4 separate regions of the Homo sapiens genome follow, and all the other regions are linked to region 4. Evidence: promoter capture Hi-C in human tissues and cell types (Jung and others, 2019). All regions are on one chromosome and are shown on one strand. Each heading gives the region's core, a stretch centred on a gene start or on the middle of the fragment in contact. The rest is flanking DNA. Distances are from core to core; before and after follow the strand shown. Region 1 overlaps POLN (DNA polymerase nu). Region 2 overlaps POLN (DNA polymerase nu). Region 3 overlaps LOC124900839. Region 4 holds the start of HAUS3 (HAUS augmin like complex subunit 3).

What was found. The method cuts DNA at HindIII sites, captures the fragments that hold promoters and counts their contacts. A contact is called where the count stands out against the background at its distance.
Region 1: a fragment that was not itself captured here is called in contact with the fragment with the promoter of HAUS3 in region 4 in 2 of the 25 tissues and cell types used here (hippocampus and mesenchymal stem cells).
Region 2: a fragment that was not itself captured here is called in contact with the fragment with the promoter of HAUS3 in region 4 in 1 of the 25 tissues and cell types used here (dorsolateral prefrontal cortex).
Region 3: a contact is called between a fragment that was not itself captured here and the fragment with the promoter of HAUS3 in region 4, in 4 of the 25 tissues and cell types used here (IMR-90 fibroblasts, hippocampus, lymphoblastoid cells and 1 more).

Annotation. Positions count from the first base shown.
Region 1 is chr4:2,093,637-2,096,827 of GRCh38, reverse strand. It overlaps POLN (DNA polymerase nu), which reads left to right. Exons shown (of 26, transcript NM_181808.4): 20 at 895-977. Among named protein-coding and RNA genes, the nearest start is that of NAT8L, 36 kb to the right of the region's middle. RefSeq lists an enhancer at 3,042-3,191. The HindIII fragment of the contact is 8,327 bases long and covers 1-3,191 here.
Region 2 is chr4:2,076,570-2,079,760 of GRCh38, reverse strand. The region is part of intron 23 of POLN (DNA polymerase nu); the gene reads left to right. Among named protein-coding and RNA genes, the nearest start is that of NAT8L, 19 kb to the right of the region's middle. RefSeq lists an enhancer at 2,953-3,191. The HindIII fragment of the contact is 4,114 bases long and covers 1-3,191 here.
Region 3 is chr4:2,031,720-2,034,920 of GRCh38, reverse strand. The region is part of intron 1 of LOC124900839; the gene reads left to right. Among named protein-coding and RNA genes, the nearest start is that of NICOL1, 8.7 kb to the left of the region's middle. The HindIII fragment of the contact is 6,531 bases long and covers 1-3,201 here.
Region 4 is chr4:2,240,382-2,243,696 of GRCh38, reverse strand. It overlaps HAUS3 (HAUS augmin like complex subunit 3), which reads left to right and starts at 1,576. Exons shown (of 6, transcript NM_001303143.2): 1 at 1,576-1,646; 2 at 1,907-2,177; 3 at 2,604-3,315. The coding sequence starts at 2,751. It overlaps POLN (DNA polymerase nu), which reads left to right and starts at 1,576. Exons shown (of 26, transcript NM_181808.4): 1 at 1,576-1,646; 2 at 1,907-2,177. It also overlaps the pseudogene COX6B1P5. RefSeq lists a silencer at 1,146-1,505 and enhancers at 2,186-2,285, 1,892-2,393. The HindIII fragment of the contact is 17,295 bases long and covers 1-3,315 here.

The DNA.
Region 1 (3,191 bases), core at 641-3,140, 150 kb after region 4:
AAGCCTGGCTAAGCAATGAAGGAGGCCCCAGCACAAAGCCATCCACAAAACAGATTGGGAGAAGTTTCTGTTACTTTTTCTGTTTCTCTCTGTGTGTCTCTCTCTCTCTCTCTCTCTCTCTCTCTCTCTCTCTCTCTCTCTTTCTCTCGGCTTCTGAATCTGAGATGCCCACTCCATCAGGGAGGCCTGGTGTAGATGATAAGGATGTTTACAAAAGCAGCAGGCAGGAGGTGGCACCGAGGGTACATGTCAGGCTGCCTGTCCTTTGAAGGTGCTCTCGGAGGAGGAGGGACTCTTGGTGGTGCTGGGAGTGCTCTGGAGCTCCTGTGCTACTCAGATGTCTCAGCTTTAATCTCTGGAGATTGCTGTGGTTCACATGCCAGTCAGATGCTGAGTTGATCCTTATTCTATCTGAATGCTGTAGCTCCAGGGTGGGGCTCACCCCCATGGCCTCTGTCTGTGGGAGGCCAGGACAGAGTTGTTCATCCAGTCAAGCAGTGGGACTAGATAGGCCTAGAAACCAGCTCCCCCACTGCAGCAGACACAGACGTGGCCCAGGCCCAGGCACCCCAATATGGGGAACGGCCTTTCCTGAAGTTGGATGGGCATGCCTTTGGTGAAAGCAGTTTTGGGTTTTGATTTGTGGACACCTGGGAACGTGGGGTGGTGCTTGGCTGGCAGCAGCTGCTGCAGCCTCGCCGAAGGCATCTGCCTGGGGCCCTTGCTGAGCTGACACCACAGGTATGGAATGTCTCCCCTGCCAGTGTGCCGGCCACCATGAAAGCATAAGGAATTTCCAGAGGAAGCACAGTGGTGGGGTGTGTGGTTGGACTGTCTGCCCTGCACTGACAGTGCCTTCTGTGCCTGAACTTCACACATGGTCTCTCCATGCAGGAAGGATGTGCCCGTGGAACAGGTGACACACGCAGACAGAGAGCAAACCAAGAAGGTGGTGTACGCGGTGGTCTATGGAGCAGGTAGGCTGCGGGCCGGGAGCTGGGGTCTCGGGGTTACCTGTAAGCTGGCAGCTGTGTGCCTGTGTTTAAATGTGGCTGTGCCTCAGAAATCGTCTGTGAGTCCCTGGGTGTTGTTTATGCTCTGATGACACCTGCAGTCACCAGACACTGGCCAGACCACCCCATGCCTTGACCTGCTCAGAGTCACATCCAGCCTCTCAGGGGAGGCCGCGGAGCTGGGCAGGTCAAGTGTGACCAAGCCGTTGGCTCCACCCCTACACCATACCACTGTGCTAGGCACCACTGCTGTGCTTGGAGACCTTCGAGGAGACCCTCGTCCACACACATGCCAAGGCATTATAAAGTTAGATAGCCTCAAGGTGTGCAGCGCTTGGACTCATTGCCACATCTCAACATGCACCCCATCTCCCTAGGGCAGAGCTCACCCAGCTGGGCCATGCAGCCAAAGCACCCCAGAGAGGGCAGAGCCAGGCCTTGGGCTGGGAGCAGAGCAGTAGGGGTCCAATCTCAGGGGTAGCAGATAGGAGAAAGCGGGGCTAGGCCAGGAAGGACTGAAGGCCAGAGGTTTGGGCTGCCTGGGGCCTCTTCTGCAAGCCTCTCCCTCCCCTCCCCTTTTTGCTTCCCTTCCTGTTTCTGCTCCTCTCCCTCCTTCCCCCTACCCCCTAGCCCCAATACCCATGTCAGAGCAGGCCTTCTACTCTCTTCCACTCACCCTTCTTCTACTCTCCCTTGGACTCCCTGACATGGGCTGTCTGGGATTTTTTAATTCTTTTCTGGCCCTGGGTCATGCTGAATCAGCATGGCCTAGTTTCCCCAGCCAGCCAGCTCCTTCTTAAGCCTGTTCAGACCTCCTTTTCCCTGTGATCAGTTCTTCTTTGGGTAGCAGGGCTTGTGCAAAGACCCTGAAAAGAAGATTCACCATCCTGCCATGGAAACCCTTTGTTTATTCACAGAAAGGCAGCAAAACCAAACAAGCTTCAGTGGAAGAATAACGGGGCAAGCACATAGTAGATTGTCCCTAAGAGCTGCCCTACAGTCTCCATTGAGAATGTGGTGCCGTTGAACAAGCGTCCAGAGTGCCCCGCCCCAAAACTGTGGATGGATAGCTTGTCTAGAACCACAGCCAATCAGCCAGGCCAGCTCCAACCTCAGAGCTTTGCACTACTCTTCCCTCTATGGGAACACCTGCCCCTGTACCACCAGAACCCATCCCTCACTTCTGCAGACCTGTGCTCAACTCTCCCCTGTGCAACCTTCCTCAACCACAGTATTTGTTACCCATTTCTTAGGTAACAAATTGCCACAAATGTAGTAACTTAAAATAATACACACTATCTCACAGTTTCTCTGGGTGTGGGCATGCCATAGCTGGGTCCCCTGCAGGGGCTGCAGTCAGGGTGTTGGCTGGGGCTGTGATCACATCTGTGGCTTGACTGGGGAAGGATCCACTTTGTTGGCTTCTGTTTCTTTCTTTCTTTTTTTTTTTTGGAGACAGAACCTTGCTCTATCCCCCAGGCTGGAATGCAGTGGCACAATCTCGGCTCACTGCATTGAGCACAAAATTGGCTCAACCTCCAACTCCTGGGCTCAAGCCTCCTGCCTCAGCCTCCTGAGTAGCTGGGGTGACAGGCACCTGCCACCACATTCGGCTAATTTTTGTATTTTTAGTAGAGATGGGGTTTCACCATGTTGGCCAGGCTGGTCTTGAACTCCTGACCTCAAGTGATCTGCCCATCTTGGCCTCCCAAAGTGCTGGGATTACAGGCATGAGCCACCGCACCTGGCTGGCTTCTGTTTCTTGCTGGCTGTCAGCCGGAGGTGGTCTCAGCTCCTTGCCACATGGGCCTCACACCTTGGGCACCCACTCGCCTGTTCATGGTCTCATGCCCCAGCTCAAACATGAGTACCTCAAAGATAGGAGCTCATCACGTTAGCTCACTGCCTGGCACAGAGAAGACACAGGAACAAATTAGTGGACTTGGTGGTCTCAGCTCCACTTTTGAAAACATTTTGATTGTATACATGGTTTTTGGAAAATAGACTAAGAAACTTTGTTTTAAAGAACTAGGTTCTGTGAGTGACAGTAGTGTGACATTGGATTGATTCTCCTCAGAGTTGCTTGGTCCACTGCCTCCTCTCAGCCTCTTCTGTGCTGCACCCCTGAACCTCCCTGGGGCCTCTGTCTTGGGGGAAGGCATCACTCTGCCAAATTAT
Region 2 (3,191 bases), core at 325-2,824, 160 kb after region 4:
ATACAAAAATTAGCCAGGTGTGGTGGCGCACACCTGTAATCCCAGCTACTCAGGAGGCTGAGGCAGGAGGATCGCTTGAACCCAGGAGGTGGAGGTTGCAGTGTGCCAAGATCGCACCACTGCACTCCAGCCTGGGTGAGAGCAAGACTCTGTCTAACAGAAAAAAAAATAAGATTCACTCTCAGTCCTCTCCTGCCCCATCTCACTGCCATCTGCATTCATTCCCAACACACACGTGCACACACACGCACACACAAGCACATGCACCCATACACGTGTTCACCCATGCATACAACCCATGCACACACATATACGCATATACACTGATGCCAGGCAGCCTCTAGTGCCCCACAGTGTTCTCATGGTGTCCTGAAATCCATGCATCCCGCTCACTTCCACAGTTTCTGCAGGTAAATTATAGCTTCTCCCAGGATATGAGCAGCTTGTGCTAGTTTCCGTCTTGGCAGGAACTGAAAGCCAAATGGTGGTCCTGCCTCTAAGATACTGCAAGTCTAGAAAAGTTGATTCAAGGCTGGGCGCAGTGGCTCACACCTGTAATCCCAGCATTTGGGAGGCCGAGTCGGGTGGATCACTTGAGCTCAGAAGTTTGTGAACAACATATGTGTTGCCTGGGCAACATAATGAAACCTGTCTCTACAAAATAAAAGCTGGCCATGGTGGTGCACACCTGTAGTCCCAGCTACTCAGGAGGCTGAAGTGGGAGGATCACCTGAGCCTGGGAGTTCAAGGCTGCAGTGAGCCATGATCATACCACTGCACTCCAGCCTGGGCAACAGGGCAAGAACCTGCCTCAAAAAAAGAAAAAATCGGTTCACTTTCAGCCCTTGTGGAATTGATAAAGGAAGTTGGCATGTGAGGAGCTGAGGTCTCTCTCTGTTGCTGACTGAGTCCTTCTGAAAGCTGGACACAGACACTTTTACTCAGGAACGCAGTTACTCGCTGGTCATCCTTCTGTCATCAGCCATTGGCTGTCACGAGGAAATGCTTCTCATAGCAAAATGCAAAGCAGACTCGTGTGGAATATTGGGCACATGGTCTGTGTTTTGTGAACGTGATTTGTTCTTCCAGGAGTAATGTGAAAGGCTGTGGATGGCGTCTGGAAGGGACGGGTGCAGGCTCAGTGTGGCCAGGCATCTCTCGCTGAAGCAGCAGGCATGAAACTCGATCACTGGGAGGCACACGGTGCCCCTAGAGTGAGCTGAGATCGCACCACTTCACTCCAGCCTGGGCGAGAGCGAGAGTCTGTCTAACAAAAAAAAAAAAAAAGAAGAAGAAGATTCATCTGGCCACCCCAAGGGTCTGCCCAGGTGGGCTGGGGCCACAGGACAGTCTGCATTCACCACCCACAGTCCCTGTGACAGGGAAATGGCATTCGTTTGTGCCTCTTGGTCCAGATCCTAAAAAGACCAGAGAGGTTGGGCTCAGAGCAGGAGGCCGGTGGCCAGCGTTCACAGGCCTCTGTGCCATGGCTCGGCTGTCCTGTCTGTCTCTTCTGGTGCAGGCCCTTTATGAAAAGGCCTTCCTGGGTTTCAGAACGTGTCAGTGCTGTGACGGTCCCTCCCCTGGGCCTTCTCAAGGCGGGTCTGCATGAGGCCACCATGCGCCCACACTCAGGATGAGTCCACAGAGCAGTTCAGCAGGGCTGGGGGCATCCCTTGCAAGGGAGCTGCCCCTGCAGGCCCCAGACAGGCAACACGGTGAGGCTCTTCTGGAACATTCTCCTACTGGTGCAGTGATCTCAGTCAGGCCATCCAGATGCAGAACACAGCAGCTCTGTGGCCGACCCCTCTCAGGAACAGGGATGAGAAGTTGCACCAGAGGTCCACTCCCTTCCGGAACACAACAGGATCCAAGGCCCTGCATTCATCCACCCCACACGGAGACGACAGACGTCCTTCTTCTTTCACCTGTGCCCCATTTCCCAGTTAGAAGCGCGGTCATGTCTCAGTGGCTGCGAGAATGATGTGTGAGTGACTGACAACTGCACCTATTCTTAGGTTCCTGCCACACCAGCAGCTCAGAATTTCACAATGTAATTTCAAGAAGTGTGAAAACTGCTTCTGCTAAATCTGGAAAAAGTTACAAGTGCCTTTTCTGAGGTTTCTGCCCATTTGAAAAGTAAGTCCTCTTGGGAGACAAAGACTTCTGCCTGAGGCCTTGAAGTTAGTTGAAGACAAGCTTGCTGGTGCTGACAGCCTGGGGCTCTGTCGCCCCTCTGACTTCTGGAAGGGCAGTGCCCACGGCCCCTGGCCAGAGGCTGCACATGAAGCACAGGCCCACCTCCCCCTCCCTGGGGGCAGCCTGCTCGAGGGTGTGAGCACCAGTGTACCGCTGTCTGGGCCCACGTAGTGTCCTGTGGATGTACACCCAGGAGGGTGTGCACTTGGCCGTCAGGAACACAGGCCCAAGCTACAGCAGCTCAGACTCCAGAAGGCAGACTTTTCTCCCATCACGAGAAGTCCAGAGAACAGTGGTTGCTTTGTTTCAGAGGCTCAGAGCAGCAGGACCGAAGTCCCTCTGGCTCCCTGGCCATTCCCTCCTGGTGCTGTGATGGAGGTGGCTGCTCCAGCCCTCACACCTTGCAGGCAAAGGAGAAAGTCATAGTGGTCAGAAGAGCATCTGCCCCTGGCAGCCCTTTACAGTCAGCCGTTTAAAGAGCCTTCCCTTTTAGGACTTTCCTGGAGTCTCTTTTCCTTCCCACTCCTTACCTCCCTCCCTGCTAAGGAAAAAAAAAATAGCCTCCTTGGAAGTTGAAGGGAATGCAGTCCTGGGCCACCCTGCCTGAGAGAGAGCCTGGGAAATGTCCTTTGTAGCTGAGGACACAGCCCCACCTCCACCCCACCCAGCAACAAAGGGGCCAACATGAAGAAAGAGAGGAAGGGCGGATTGGGGCAGGTCACCGGAAATCTCTGTTGCAAAGTCCACATCCCCTGTGGAAAGTGCCAGCACAGCCCACCTGTACCCTGGGGCTTGAAGGCTGCCCCTTATCCCAGCTGGGGCTCTCCGTCACATGCCCGTGACTACTGCCCGGCAAGGACGCCCATGCAGACCAGCTCCCTAGGGCCCTGGGCCCGCTGTGCCCATCTGTGCCAGCCAAGGACGGGCAGCAGGGGCGAAGATAGGACGTGACCCCTGCCCCTGAAGACTCGATCCAGGAGACAGAGCCAAGG
Region 3 (3,201 bases), core at 163-2,662, 210 kb after region 4:
ATTCACTCCTGTGTGGAAACCATAGAACAGACCTCCTCTAGCAGGCCTGACCTCAAAGATGAGCCCTTGAGCCCCTGCATAACCCCGATGTTGAGTGGCTCAGAGATGAAAGTGGTTTTATTCATAAGGGAGAAAGAAAGATCGGTTATGCAGTAGTTAGCCGAGAAGAAGGCATTGAGGCCAAAGCTTGACCTCCCCAGACATCTGCTCAAAAAGTGGAATTAATTGGTCTAATCAGGGTCCTCCAACTGAGAAAAGACTTAAGAGTCAACATATTTACCGATTCCAAATATGGGTGCCTGGTGCTCCACGCTCATGACGCCATATGGAAAGAAAAGGGAGCGCTAACAGCTAAGGAATCCCCCACACAGCATTGCTCTGAGATCTTGGAATTGTAGATGCTGTCCAGCTCCCAAAGGAGGTGGCAGTTACTCACTGCAGGGGACACCAAAAGGGGGACACCTCTATCATCCCGGAGGAAATGCCCTGATGGACAGGACAGCCAAGGCCACAGGTGAAGAACACCAGTGCTCCAGGCCACGGACTAATGCCAGGTACTGCACCCATGCCAGCAGCACCCTACTGTACTCCTGAGGAAAGTAAATGGGCAGAACAGATGGGCTTACAAGGCCAGGCGTGGTGGCTCACACTTGTAATCCCAGCACTTTGGGAGGCTGAGGTGGGTGGATCATGAGTTCAGGAGTTCGAGACCAGCCTAGCTAACACAGTAAAACCCTATCTCTACTAAAAATAGAAAAAAAAATTAGCCAGGTGTGGTGATGCATGCCTGTAATCCTGGATACTCGAGAGGCTGAGGGAGGAGAGTCATTTGAACCTGGGAGGCAGTTTTCCCTGGCCAGTGCTAGGGAGATTGTGAGGTTTGGACTGGGCAGAATTCCCCACAGCGCAGCACAGCAGCTGTGGCAGATTGTGGCCAGACTGCCTCTTTAACTGGGAACCAGACCCATCCCTTCTCACCCGAGCAGTGCCTCCCTGCAGGAGTTCCAGCAACTCCAGCCAGGGGTTTACGGACAGAACTTTCATCTCCCCAGGTCAGAGCACCTGGGGAGAGTGGTGGCCGCAGTCTCAGGTTGGACAGACTTAATCTTTCCTGCTTGCTGGCTCCCAAGAGTCCCAGTGACCTGGATGAGGGGGCATTCCCCCCAGCGCAGTGCACCCACACTGGTAAGGGGCAGCCAGACTGCTTCCTTAAGCAGGTCCCTGATCACATGCCTCCTGACTGGGTGAGACCTCCCAACAGGGGCCACCAGACACTTCATTCAGGAGAGCTGCAGCTGGCATCAGGTCGGTGCCCCTCTGAGACAAAGCTTCCAGAGGAAGGAGCAGGCAGCAATCTTTGCTGTTCTGCAGCCTTCACTGGTGATACCCAGGCAAACAGGGTATGGAGTGGACCTCCAGCAAATTGCAGCCGACCTGCAGAAGAGGGGCCTGACTGTTAAAAGAAAAACAGCCAGGCGCAGTGGCTCACGCCTGTAATCCCAGCACTTTGGGAGGCTGAGGAGGGTGGATCACAAGGTCAGGAGTTCGAGACCAGCCTGGCCAATATGGTGAAACCCTGTCTCTACTAAAAATACAAAAATTAGCCAGGCGTGGTGGTGGGCGCCTGTAGTTCCAGCTACTTGGGAGGCTGCAGGAGAATCGCTTGAACCTGGAAGGTGGATGTTGCAGTGAGGGAGCCAAGATCGCGCCACTGCACTCCAGCCTGGGTGACAGAGCGAGACTCCATCTCAAAAAAAACGAAAAAAAAGAAAATAAAAGAAAAACAAACAGAAAGCAACAACAACAACATCAACAAAAAAGACCCCACAAAAACCCCATCTAAAGGTCAACAGCCTCAAAGAGGAAAGGTAGATAAATCCACAATGAGGAAAAACCAACGCAAAAATGCTGAAAATTCCAAAAGCCAGAATGCCTCTTCTCCTTCAAATGATCAAAACACCTCTCCGGCAAGGGCACAGGAGTGGGCTGAAGCTGAGATGGATGAACTGACAGAAGTACGCTTCAGAAAGTGGGTAATAATATACTTCACTGAGCTAAAGGATTATGTTTTAACCCAATGCAAAGAAGCTAAGAACCACGATAAAACATTACAGATGGTGTTAACTGGAATAACCAGTTTAGAGAGAAACATAAATGACCCGACGGAGCTGAAAAATACAGCACAAGAACTTCATGATGCAAACACAAGTATCAACAGCCAAATCAACCAAACAGAAGAAAGAATATCAGAGCTTGAAGACTGTCTTGCTGAAATAAGGCAGGCAGACAAGATTAGAGAAAAAATAATGAAAAGGAATGAACAAAACCTCCGAGAACTATTGGACTATGTAAAAAGATTGAACCTACAACTGATTGGAGTACCTGAAAGAGACGGGGAGAATGGAGCCAAGTTGGAAAACACACTTCAGGTTATCCTCCAGGAGAACTTCCCCAACTTAGCAGGACAGGCCAACGTTCAAATCCAGGAAATCCAGAGAACTCCAATAAGATACTCCATGAGAAGGTCAACCCTAAGGCACATAATCATCAGATTCTCTAAGGTTAAAATGAAGTAAAAAATGTTAAGGGCAGCCAGAGAGAAAGGCCAGGTCACCTACAAAGGGAAGCCCATCAGACTAACAGTGGACATCTCAGTGGAAACCCTACAAGCCAGAAGAGATTGGGGGCCAATATTCAACATTCTTTTTTTTTTTTTTTTTGAGACGGAGTCTTGCTCTGTCGCCTGGCTGGAGTGCAGTGGCGCAATCTCAGCTCACTACAAGCCTCTCAAGTAGCTGAGATTATAGGCACATGCCACCACGGCCGGATAATTTTTTGTATTTTAGTAGAGATGGGGTTTCACCATGTTGGCCAAGATGATCTTGATCTCCTGACCTCGTGATCCACCCACCATGGCCTCCCAAAGTGCTGTGAGCCACCGCGCCTGGCCAATATTCAACGTTCTTAAAGAATTTCCAGGCCAGGTGCAGTAGCTCACACCTGTAATCCCAGCACTTTGGGAGGCCAAGGTGGGTGGATCACAAGGTCAGGAGTTCAAGAACAGCATGGCCAACATGGTGAAACCCTGTCTCTACTAAAAATACAAAAATTAGCTGGACAGGGTGGTGCGTGCCTGTAATCCCAGCTGCCTGGGAGGCTGAGGCAGGAGAACTGGTTGAACCGGGACTCAGGAGGCAGAGG
Region 4 (3,315 bases), core at 327-2,826:
TTTCCTTGCCTGCAGATTGGGCACCACTCTTTGAATTTTTTCCCATCATGTTTGTTTTTCAGATCATTTTAGGCCTTATTGACTTTTAAAAGAGGAGGAAAAAAACGTGAAACAAGTGAAGAATGAATAGGAAATATCTTTGACTCGATCAGATTACAATATTTGCCTTAGAACATTCTTATTTCTCTCCTTAAAAATATTAAGAAAAACTATCCAAACGACTTCTACCTAGTCACCCTGGACTAGGACATTGTCTAACAAGCCACCTTTAGGGTCATTTGACGCTGAAGGGAGGGAGTACTATTATATTTACCCATGACCAAAGCCCCTGCTAACCTGTGGAAGACTGAGGAGTGGCAAAGGATTTTTGTTTGGTAGAGATGCAAACGAATTCTGTCCAATAGAGAGGTCTGGTTTCACTGGGCTGTAGGGCATCAGCCAGATTCACATGAAATTTAGCAATCCCGTTTCAGTCATCTTTCACTGACTGCCATCCTCTTTGGAAATGGTGTACCATCCTCCTTGAGTTAAATATATCGATGTATTTAACTCAGGCCATTCCGTTTATTTCTAACATTTTGAAAAGGGAATTGTGGAGGAAGTCAGCTTTTTTTTTTTTTTTTTTTTTGAGACGGAGTCTTGCTCTGTCGCCCAGGCTAGAGTGCAGTGGCGTGATCTCGGCTCACTGCAACCTCCACCTCCTGGGTTCAAACGATTCTCCTGCCTCAGCCTCCCGAGTCGCTGGGATTACAGGCGCCCACCACCGCGCCCGGCTAATTTTTGTATTTTTTAGTAGAGATGGGGTTTCACCATCTTGGCCAGGCTGGTCTCGAACTCCTGACCTCATGATCCCCCCCCCCCCCCCCCCCGGCCTCCCAAAGTGCTGGGATTACAGGCATGAGCCACCGCGCCCGGCCAGAAGTCAGCTTTTACATAGTGTTCTGGTGAGGGATTAGAAATTAAGTGTTTTTGCAAAATAAAGTTCATTGTAAAAGACTCTAAGCGAACAATCCCTAACCCTTAAAATGTACCAGGCATTGGTCGGGCTGCTGTGAATGTTCCGGGAACTCGTCTCTCTCGGGGGCGAGCGCTATCACCGCCGGGCTCCAGCCTGTCTCCCAACCACCAACCTGCGCTGCTCTTTGTACCATTCAAAAGTGCCTTCAGAGGGTCTAGATTGAAGTACGGGGCAGGGCAGGCCTGAAGCACAACTGACGGCTCCGTTGAGAGCAGGCCCGCAGCTTCAGCTCCCCAGAGGGCGCCCCACCGCACCCCTCTGCACCCCTCTGCACCCCATTCATTGCCCAGGCTCCGCCCCCTGCCCAGGCCCCGCCCCTGTCCAGGCCCTGTCCCCGCCCTTCCCGGCCCAGACCCCGCCTCTCTCTGCCCTGCGCCCCGCCCAGGAGGCAGGATGCCCGCAGCGGCCGGGGGCCGAGCGCCGCCTGCTCAGCTCCACCCCATAGTCCAGCCTCGCCGACTCCGCCTCTTTTGACACTACGCCTGCGCAAACAGTCATCCCCCACGACCACGCCGTCGCCTTGTGCGCTTGCGCGCGTCCAGGCGCTCCCGTGAGGCAGTGCGAGGCGCGCGGGGCACGGAGGGCGGTGGCGGCGGGCTCCTGCGAGAAGCAAGCGGAACTTCCTGAGGTGACTGACGCGGGCCTCGGTTCTGGGCGCAGGGGTGTGGGGCTGGAGGAGTGGCCGCGATCCCCGTCTGCACCCAGGTGCCTCTTTTTTTTCCTGCGCTCCTGGGGGCTCCTTCCAGGTGCTCCAGCAGCTGCCCGGGGATCAGGGCCCGGTCCGCTGGGCGAGGAGCTGGGGCGGGGGCTGTGCGGGGCCTGTCACCCCCGTCTTCTGCAGCTCGGTGTCGACGGCGATTCGGTGGGCTTGTGCGTTTGTTTTGTCAGCGTGCTTAGGTGTCACAGCTGGGTGACCCTCCGAAGGAAGGTTTTGCCGCTGGCGCGTCTGGTGTATCGCGGCCTTGGGGCCGCGGATCCCTGGGGCTTGCCGCTGCCTCTGGGGTTCGCGCGGCCCTGGCGTCGGGGCTGCCTCAGCGCTGGCTGAAGGCCGGCCCGAAGCACCCTTAATTGTGGCCGCGCGCTTCCCTGCTGCTCCTGCTGTTCTCCGCGTCGCGGTGGTGGACTCTGGAGGTGGAGCCTTGCCCGGCGAGACGTTGAGGTAAATATTTAGTTGATCTTCAGAAGATGTGCCATGCTTATTTGCGTCTTCTTACGTACGGAGGGCAGGGAAGAGAGGCTGCCTAGCCTCCTGGTGGCTTGGGTTTGTTTGGATCCATTTATTTTGAATTAAAAACAAATGCTGCTCTATAAAGTGTAATGCATTTTAAACCATTTTATCTTTGGAAAAAAAGATAAAATGGATCCAAATAGATCCACTTTCTTGTTAATTACTTTTCGTTACTGTTGCGGTTTTCTGAGAACTAGCCTAATTGTTTCTGTTTCTCTTTATCATCATCAAACATTGCAGCTACGACTACCTGTCATTTATCCCGCTCTCGGATATCATGTGATATTTGTCTGTGTCTTCTTTTTAAAAACACTGTCGTCATATTTGTGGTCTAATACTTGTTTTCTTCCCCCCTAGGAGGAATCATTATAGATTCTAAAAATATATTTTCCCTTCTCTGTGGACTTGGTATAAAACGTAGCTTTTTTTCTGCTTGGATTTATTTTCTAAAAATCAACACCGTAAACCCATATCAGATACAACAAAATTGGGGTAGTTAAAACCATGAGTTGTGGAAATGAGTTTGTGGAAACATTAAAAAAAATTGGTTATCCCAAAGCTGATAATCTTAATGGAGAAGACTTTGACTGGTTGTTTGAGGGCGTTGAAGATGAATCGTTTCTGAAGTGGTTTTGTGGGAATGTGAATGAACAGAACGTGTTGTCTGAAAGAGAATTGGAAGCTTTTAGCATTCTTCAGAAATCAGGCAAGCCTATTCTAGAAGGGGCGGCATTGGATGAAGCTCTTAAAACGTGTAAAACTTCTGATTTGAAGACACCTAGACTGGATGATAAAGAGCTGGAGAAATTAGAGGATGAGGTTCAAACTCTACTGAAATTAAAGAACCTAAAAATTCAGCGACGTAATAAATGTCAATTGATGGCTTCAGTAACTAGCCACAAATCTCTGAGGTTAAATGCTAAAGAAGAAGAAGCCACTAAAAAGCTGAAGCAGAGTCAAGGAATTCTAAATGCAATGATCACTAAGATCAGTAATGAACTTCAGGCTCTTACTGATGAAGTTACACAATTGATGATGTTCTTCAGACATTCTAATTTAGGTCAAGGGA